Regions from separate parts of the Homo sapiens genome. Here region 2 is linked to region 1. Evidence: promoter capture Hi-C in 16 types of primary human blood cells and fetal thymus (Javierre and others, 2016). All regions are on one chromosome and are shown on one strand. Each heading gives the region's core, a stretch centred on a gene start or on the middle of the fragment in contact. The rest is flanking DNA. Distances are from core to core; before and after follow the strand shown. Region 1 holds the start of ATP12A (ATPase H+/K+ transporting non-gastric alpha2 subunit). Region 2 has its middle 54 kb from the start of ATP12A.

Region 1 (4,782 bases), core at 2,183-4,682:
TTTTGAAAAGCAGCAAAACCTCAAGCAGAAGCTGCTACTAGCACATGTGGGCTGAGGAAGTCTCCCGGCTGCAGCCTGGCCTCTATGGCCAACCCTCTAGGAGCCATTTGCACTGGGTGGGATCAGGGTACATTGCTCAGAACATTGTGGGTGATGGCCCTGGGACCGAACGTGTCTCAGGAGAAATCCAATTCCTGATTCTACAGGTAAGTGCCTCCAGATGCCTGCATCACAGTTACCCAGGGCCTACCCACCTCAAGGCAGAGTCGGGTATCCAGATGACTAGAGGCAGCAAAGGACACGATTCTGGAGTTAGGGTTGGGGAATGGCCCCATTTTCCTTCTTTGGTAGAAGTCAACACTCCAGGACACCTGAATGGCACCAGAGGCTGCCACAAGGGCCATAGCAGTGACAGCTGAGACTAGTCCCTGGCAGAAGCCAAGAACTCTGCAGGATCAGAGAGGTGCCAGAGAACCTGACCATGGAAATGTTTTTGTCCTGCTTGTAGTAATAAACCGTCTTCCACCCTTGATACCAAAAGGAATAAGCAGCAATCTTGGGCTCAATGGCTCACACCTGTAATCCCAGTATTTCTGGGGCAGAGGTGAGCGGATCGCTTGAGCCCAGGAGTTGGAGGCCCGCCTGGGCAACATGGTGAAATCCCTTCTGTACCAAAAAAAACCACAAAAATTAGCTGTGCCTGTAGTCCCAGCTACTCAGGAGGCTGAGGTGGGAGAATGGCTTGAGCCCAGGAGGCGGAAGTTGCAGTGAGCTGTAATCACACTGCACTCCATCCTGGGCAACAGAGCAAGACCGTCTTAAGAAAAAAAAAAAAGCGGCAATCTTCTCCAAGGATCAAGGGAGGGTGCCATCAGTTAGTACTTTCTAAAGCTGTGTCACCATCTCTTTTTAGCCCACTTCCCCTCCCCGCTCCCCATCCCTCAGTCAAGTCCCTAGGATCTGAGTTTGCTTTTGGAGCTTGAACTGGCCTTGAGCTCAGAGACATCTCTCTGCGGACCCTGCTTCTCTATTCTACATCTGTCCCAATAGTTGGAGCAGGGGCTGGAACAGCTTAAGGTGAGCAGCAGCCACCTGTTCCCAAAAAACCCTTAGCTTGGATTATCAGCAGACAGTGGAACATCAGTTTCGTACACATTTTGTATTTCTCACCCCATCTGCAAACCTTTCCTTTGAAGAGTATTCCAAGAATGGAACCCAGAGCTCCCCAGAAGCACACTGTTGCTTGGGTTTGGACTAGAATTTAATGTTCCCTCCAACTCTAGAGAATCCATGATGTGTATCTTTACACCAGATGCCACTAGGAGTCTTCCTGTCCCTTATCATTTTAGTTAAGAAGTGACTCATTGCTGTCATCCTTGCTTCACAGAGGGAGGAACCCAGGCTTCAGATTCTGCCCTTTTGGAACGGAAGAAGGAGGGAGAGCGGGGAAAGACCTATGTGTGCAGCACTATGGAGACAGTTCACTATGTCGGGTACAACACATTCCCTTAGTCTCATTTGAAAGCCATGATGAACAGAGAGGTGTGGAAAATCTAAGATCACAAATATGCCATGAGAAAGTATCTTTGTCTCTACTGCTACTTTACAAAACCACGTCTCTAACTGCTAACACTTCAAATTCCCTCAAAATAAGCTTCTTTTCCCAATTGTCCCTCACCACCAACTATAGTCATGCTCTGAAATTATTATGGAAATTTAGCATCTGAAAGGAACAGGAAGTTATAATTAATTCCTAATTAGAATTGGGCACAAGCTTTTTTTTCTTATTTTTTTTTTAATTTTTTTATTGTGACAGAGTCTCGCTCTGTCGCCCAGGCTGGAGTGCAGTGGCGCGATCTCCACTCACTGAAAGCTCCACCGTCTCCCGGGTTCATGCCATTCTCCTGCCTCAGCCTCCCGAGCAGCTGGGACTACAGGCGCCCACCACCATGCCCGGCTAATTGTTTTGTATTTTTAGTAGAGATGGGGTTTCACCGTGTTAGCCAGGATGGTCTCGATCTCCTGACTTCGTGATCCGCCCGCCTCGGCCTCCCAAAGCGTTGGGATTACAGGCGTGAGCCACCGCGCCCGGCCGGGCACAAGCTTATTGTTTTTCTTCTACCTTTTCTAAATGTACCCAATGCTCTTCATGTTTTCTGCCAGATGTTCTAGTCACTGCATGATGGGATTGTTACTTTTGCTGCTTCTCTGGACTCCTCACTCTTAGTCATTTTAAATATGGTCAAAATGACAATCTTTCTTACCATATTTGATATATAACTTTCAAAAAGAATAAAACTTAGCACCCTCCTATTAGTCCTTATCTAAATGGAAACTTATTAGCAGAGCATCAAGGGCCCAATAAAGTGCCCCCTCTTTTGAAACTTATCTCTACTCCCTTTCATATATTTCAATCATGTCAATTTCTTATTGTTCTTCTAAATAGGTGCTGATTACTAAACTCTATTCGTGGGTTTTATTTTTTATGTTCCTCTCCATTAATTAATATTCTTCACTGACTTTAAGACTTCACGATTCATTCTTTTAAAAGAACGTGTTTGATTTCCTCCACTGTTAACTGCTAAATATCTCTCTGATATATTGTTTTCAGGCTATCTTTCTCATCTGGAGTAATTATGTTTCAAGTGTCAGGGGGAAAATACCTTTTCTATCCTGTGCAAAAACTCATGCTGGGCACTAAGAGCATGGAGCATGTCCCAGTTATCTATTGCTGCATAACAAACCAACCCAAACTTAGCAGTATAAAACAACCACTGCTTTAGTATGCACATCAACTTTCAGGGTCAGAAATTCTTTTCTCCTTCATGTATAGAGTCTCAGCTGGGAGTGACATAAATAGGTGGAGACAGACCTCTCCAGCCCAGTCCAGCCAACAGCCTCCGCTCCTGCGCACCCGCAGCCTGGGGCCCCAGGTTCCTGTGGTCTCACCGACCCTAATCCTCTCATCTCTCCTCCCCATTCCCTCTCCAAATTGTTTCAGAATTCCAAATTCTTATCTGGATCCGGCAAATTAATTCAGCTACTCTTCAGAGTCTCTCAGTTATTCCCAAATTCTCTCGGAAGCTTGAATTTACCTATCTAAATCCATTCTCAAAAACACATTGGCCTTTTCTAGCCGGGACATCTCCAACAGTAGTTGCTGTTAGAAACTGCAATTTCCCCTTCTCTGCATACACATTTTTATAAATTGATTTATTGGTAGGCAAATTACATTTTTAAAAAAAGGCATGTGTGGGTTTTCAGGGAAGCCTGGACAGGACGTGGGCGTGCCGGGAGCTCGCCGGAGCAGCTGGTCCGGCTCTGGGCGCCCAGCGGAACCAGGGCTGTACTCACCTGGATGCCGGACCCGCCCCCTAGAGACCCCGCCCCCTGGCGTTCGGCTACTAAAGGGAAGGGGATTCCCAGGGGGTCCTCAATCCTGGACTCTCCCGACCCCTAGCTGTCGGTCCCCCTCCCTGCGCGCGCGCCGGCGGGTTTCCTACCCTCCGAGGCGTCCGCTGGCCTGCGCCCTGGCGGGGACGTGGGCGGGGCGGGCGGCATTTAAGGCTGGTGCCACCTCCCCGGTGCAGCGGCTGGCGATCGGCCGCGGAGGTGCGTGCAGGGCCCGCGCCGCCGCCGGTATCTCCACCGCCAACACCTCAGCCACTGCCACTGCCACAGCCACACGAGGCCCCCCACCGTGCGCTCCGCCGCTGCGGTCCCGGATCCGCGCTCCACGCCCGCAGCCCGCGGCGCCACCAGCCCAGCATGCACCAGGTGCGTGCAGCCCCCGCGCCGGCCGAGGATGCGAGACGCTGGGCCAAGGCCCCGGGGACCGGAGCAGGCTGACGGGAAGCGAGGAAAAGGCGAAGAGGAGAAACGCCCCGTCCCGGGGCAAGGGGAGGCCGCCTTTCCTCTGAGCGCCCCCCGGCCTGGGCACCGCTTCTCTGACTCCCCGCCACGGCTCCGTGCGGCCGCCGGGGCTGGCTGGGGAAAGAAGCCAGTCCAGAGGAGCGAGAAGGGGCCAAGGGGTCCTAGGCCAGCTCCATGGCACCTGCGGGCTCCGACTCGGAGGATGGGGTGACATGGATTCGTTGCGGTCTGAAAAGACTTCCGGTTAGGGCCCCCTGATCAGGACTGAGGGTCGTAAGCTTAGTGGGTGCCTCCTCCCCAAGAAACAGGACGCACAGCTGTTGTGTCCCCTGGGAAGGACACCTCAGAGGAAACCTCGAGGTGCCTAAGGAACCTCGAGGTTCTAAGGAAACCTCACAGCTCCTTGGAGGCATCAGTCAGGAGTTGGGGGGGTAACTTCCCACCTGCTCCACCCAGAGAAGGGTCACCCTGAGGAGCTGCTGGCTGGCCTGTGCCCACCCCGCCTCCCCTCTACACGGACGGAGAGGAAGCCAAGGTCGGCGGGAGGTGGGGGAGAGACTCCACTGTCCGACTCCCTCCGGCCTCCCCAGAGGAGGGAAGGAAAGGGAGAAGGGGCTCCTGACTCCTGCAGGTCCTGACCCCGCAGAGGGGCGCTCAGCACCTCTTCGGAAACCCCATTTGGGGCCAATATTGCACCTGGGCTTCTCTTTCAGAAAACCCCAGAAATTTACTCCGTGGAGCTCAGCGGAACTAAGGACATCGTGAAAACAGACAAGGGGGATGGCAAGGAGAAGTATAGGGGTCTGAAGAACAACTGCCTGGAACTCAAAAAGAAAAATCACAAAGAGGAGTTTCAGAAAGAACTCCATCTGGTCAGTAGCCTTAAGCCACGGGGTCCTGCCGGCTATG
Region 2 (4,649 bases), core at 282-2,781, 55 kb before region 1:
CAGCTGGGCTCCTGAGTCAGGTAGGGACTTGCAGAACTTTTATGTCTAGCTGGAGGATTGTATATGCACCAATCAGCACTCTGTGTCTAGCTCCAGGTTCGTGGATGCACCAATCAGCATCTGTATCTAGCTAATCTGGTGGGGACTTGGAAAACTTTTATGTCTAGCTAAAGGATTGTAAATACACCAGTCAGCACTCTGTGTCTAGCTAAAGGTTTGTAAACGTACAAATCAGTGCTCTGTGTCTAGCTAATCTGGTGGGGACTTGGAGAACTTTTATGTCTGGCTAGAGGATTGTAAATGCACCAATCAGCATTCTGTGTCTAGCTCAAGGTTTGTAAATGCACCAATCAGCACCCTGTCAAAATGGACCAATCAGCTCTCTGTAAAATGGACCAATCAGCAGGATGTAGGTGGGGTCAGATAAGGGAATAAAAGCAGGCTGCCTGAGCCAGCAGTGGCAACCCACTCGGGTCCTCTTCCACAGTGTGGAAGGTTTGTTATTTTGCTCTTTGCAATAAATGTTGCTGCTGCTCACTCTTTGCATCTGCACTGCCTTTATGAGCTGTAAACACTCACTGCGAAGGTCTGCAGCTTCACTCCTGAGGCCAGCAAGACCATGAACCCACCGGGAGGAATGAACAACTCCAGATGCGCTGCCTTAAGAGCTATAACACTTACCGTGAAAGTCTGTGTCTTCACTCCTGAGCTAGCGAGACCACGAACCCACCAGAATGGAAGGAACTCTGAACACGTCCGAACATCAGAAGGAACAAACTCTGGTCACACCGTCTTTAAGAACTATAACACTCACCGCGAGGGTCGGCGGCTTCATTCTTGAAGTCAGTGAGACCAAGAACCCACCAATTCCGGACACACAGTGGCCTCTGGGGGGATTCCACCAGGGTTCAGGCCCTGGACTGGGGCTGGATGAATAGATCCCATCAGGTCCCACCCTGGGGGCCAGCATCCAGAGAGAGAATCATTAACCAACCACACCAAGGAGGGTGAATTTGCCACTGTGATCAGGGCTGTGAAAGAAAAAGGAACATGGGGTCTGAAATCGGGGCAGTGGGGCAGTGGGGAGGGCTGGCTGCCATCTCCCAAGGAAGGGCGTTGAGCCGAGCTCCCACAGCTGAGCAGCTGAACGGGTGGAGGGAAGCCCTGCGTTGGGGGCAGAGCACCAGGCCTGGCCCAGCCAGGGAGTGGCAAGTAAGTCCTTGGGGAAGGAGTGGGGTCCAGGTTGGACCAGGTCAGGTCAGTGAGCGGGACCTCAGGGGGCCTGAGAGTGAGGAAGGCTGGAGAGGCTGAGGAGCCTGGAAGCTGTTCAGCCCAGGAGGGGTGACGGGGGTGGGGAGGCTCTCCAGAGCCACAGGAAGCGGGGAAGAGAGCTTGTGTTTGGTGGGGAGAACAGACAGGATCAGATCCAAGCTTCTGAAAAGATCCCTCTGGCTTCACATAAACAAAGATTGCACAGGCTTTCCACATCTCACTTGGTTCTTTCCTTCTTAAATGAACCAGCTTGTGTGAGAGAAGATGACAGCATATTTAATTTCCTAGCACTTACCACCAACAGCCAAATAATTTATTTTCTATCTTCTTCCTCTAGAAAATAAGTTCCAAGATTTATGTAAGCTTTGTTCACTGTTATATCTCCAGCACCTAGGACAAAGTCTGAGATTTGTTAAATGAACTTATAGGAAGCCATTGGTTTGGGCTGAGCTCCTGCAATAGACCCAACAGAGCAAACCAAAATGGAGTTACTCCTGCCAAACTTTCATGACACCAAACTGAAACTAAGTTGTTTATTTGACCTTCCAAGAGATCAGGAGAGAGAGATAATAGCCAAATCCCCAAACAGGTCGGTTTTAACAAGCAGGAAGAAGTCCCCTCTTCTTTAACCTTTACGAGAAAAACTACTTTCTAATAACCAACCCGCCTTCTGCTTCCTGTTTCTGTTTTCCTCAGCCTTTTTCTGTTTAAAAAGTCAACCCCCTCTGCTGGCCTTATCAAAACACTCCTATTTTATGGAATGGAGTGTTGCTCAATTCTAGAATCACAAATAAAGGCCAATTAGGATCTTTAAACTGCATTTGTTGTAATTTTTGTCTTTTGACAAATGTAATAAGCACTCAATAAACATGTGAAAAGAGGGAGAGCAAGAGATAGAGAAAGAGAGAGGGAGCGAGGAAGAGAGAGAGGCCTCATGGAGGAAGGAGGGTGACTTCTCTGCACCTTCAGAGGCAGGTGCCCCCACAGTGCCAGTGCAAGCACTGAGCAGATTTTGTGGGGTACGTGTTGGTGTAGCAAGAAAGACAAGGCCTGTATCCAAAGAGCTGGGTTTGAGAATGAGTGTTGCCACTTACTAGAATGAAACCTTTGTCAAGTTACTGAACATCTGAACTTCCAACTCCTCAAATGTAAAATGGGTGTGACAACACCCACCTCACCGGGTTATTGCAGAGGCTGAACGTGTAGCTGTGATTAAGAAGGGCTGTGTACACTGCAGAGAACTATGCAAATACTGGTAGTCTCTACTTTGTGGGCCCTCCCAGGAGTCAGAAAAAGACAGGACCAGGTGGCTTTTTGGGCGTCCATTGCAACATCAGGGAGAGGAGTGAAGCCACAAGGATGACATGGTCTATGGCACGTCCGGCTGCTACTGCTGCTGCCCATGACACACTCCTGGAGCCCAGGCAGAGTCTGTGTTTGTCATCTGAATTTCCCAGCTAGTTTAGAGTTTATGACATCAGAAAAGACAGCAAAATTCCAGAAAAAACTTGGGTCAAGTGCACTGCAGACAAATGGATTTCAAATTTGGTTTCTCCTTGCCCTTAGAATACATTTATTTAAAAAAACCTTTCTAGCAAAAGATATTACTACAGAGGAGAGAAACCTTTCTTCCACAGCGCCCTTGCACATTTGATCTGGTTTGCCCAGTGCGGGGTGGGGACAGGAAACTGACACCCTAGCAGGTTAATGTCTTCCAGGAAGTCCATTACAGATTCTGAATTTAAACCTGGGTCTACTAATGATTGTTCTCCAATCACTTAGCTGCCACTTGTGAGTTTCCACTATGGAAACCAGTGATTTTTCACAGAAAATTAGTGAAGCAAATGGAATGATTTTTAAAAGCATAGGGTTTGAAGTCGGAAGGCTGGAGTCCAGAGCCCTGCTTCTGACACCTACTGGCCTGTCATTTTCACCTCCTAACATCTGAGGAGCCCAGGTTCTCCTTAGCAAAGTGGGGATGATAATTCCTAGGGCACCGGGCTGTTGAAGATTTAACTGGGATAATGGAAACTCACAGGCCATAAAACGCCCAGCCAGTGATGAGTACTCACTACACTTTGGCCGCAGCTGGTTTTGATTTTAAATAAGTAACCTGCAAGTCTGTATCCATCGCTAGGCACTCCGGGGAAAAGGGGTGCGTACAAAGGAGGGATGAACCCCCAGCTGTGGCTGCAATGGAGCCAGCATCCCATCAGAAAAGGGGAGCCCTGACCCTCCTCCCCTTCCCCTGGGACTGTTCTCAGGCAACGTGGGCTCCAGCCTGCAGGTGCCCGGCTCCACCGCCAGACGGCGCCGTGGCAAGGGACACCGCACAGGGCGCTGGGCTCCTGGAAGAGGGGAGGAGGCCGGCAAAGGTTTCAGAGGCAAAGTTGTCGGTTACAGGCCAGCCGCGGGAGCAGGGCGCGGAGCAGGGAATAAGCAGGAGCACTCTGTGTCAGCCTGGTTCTCTAAAGAGCGGGTAGTTCAAGGAAAGACACCGAATCAGGCATCCAACAACTGGGGAGCAGGACGGCGCCAGCCAAAAGAAGTTCTAGTTGGCCCAAGCCCGGGAGGCCTCACCCTTGCAGGTGGAGCTGGACCGGCTTCAAAAATGTGAGGTCCAGAGGTTGGGTAGATCATGGTGGTGCAGACACCCCACTAGGGCAGGATCGATTCCCTGTGGGGGAGCAAAGGGACATGAGAGATAAGCTCGGCCCAGGAGTAGGGGCCACATTACCCTTGGTATTAAGCAAAAGGCAAAAGAGGGTGTCCGTGGTGTAGCAAGGAGTCCCCAGGAGTTCCCAGCAAGGCAGGGACTGATGAAAACAGCGTTTGAGGAAAACAGGCCGAAGCCTGAACCAATAGCCTTTAGGCTGCCAGACTGGTTTAGGGGAGAGAAGCAAAACAGATTTCCTTTTAGCAAAGCGCACGTCCTCACTGGCTACACTGTTAGCTCTCTGGGAGCTGATGCCATGCGCATAGTAGGTGTGTGGCAGAGACAGCTAGACATAGCCACCGAAGAGCCTGCTCGCCCGTAGAATGCAGGGCTATTGCAGGAAAGCATCTGCCCGGAGGCTCTGCTTCCCCATTTCCTCACACATTGAGCTAGCCAGAACCATGTGAGTGAGTCTGCACCAGCAACAGCAGGCACCATGACTGCCCCGTGGCTCTCTCCTAAAAGATAGCTCCCACTCTCTCTCCCTCCTCCTTCCCCAGGCTGGGTGTTGACACACAGGGCGAGGCCACATGGCAGAGCCTCCCCTGGGCCCTATTCCGGAACAGCTGTGAGGAAACCCCTCCTCTCCCACTCTACTGCGCCTCCCCTGGACCTCACATGAGAAAGCAACTTCCATTGTGTTGAGCCACTGACATTAAGG

The links. Contacts are between HindIII fragments. The CHiCAGO score rates a contact against its expected background, and 5 or more counts as called.
Region 2: a fragment that was not itself captured here is called in contact with the fragment with the promoter of ATP12A in region 1 in 1 of 17 cell types (total CD8 T cells); the score reaches 5.3 in total CD8 T cells.

What each region holds. Positions count from the first base shown.
Region 1 is chr13:24,676,976-24,681,757 of GRCh38, forward strand. ATP12A (ATPase H+/K+ transporting non-gastric alpha2 subunit) reads left to right here and starts at 3,433. Exons shown (of 23, transcript NM_001676.7): 1 at 3,433-3,777; 2 at 4,587-4,745. The coding sequence starts at 3,769. RefSeq lists a silencer at 3,481-3,790. The HindIII fragment of the contact is 1,067 bases long and covers 3,083-4,149 here.
Region 2 is chr13:24,623,709-24,628,357 of GRCh38, forward strand. No RefSeq gene overlaps it. Among named protein-coding and RNA genes, the nearest start is that of ATP12A, 54 kb to the right of the region's middle. RefSeq lists an enhancer at 3,914-4,649. The HindIII fragment of the contact is 204 bases long and covers 1,430-1,633 here.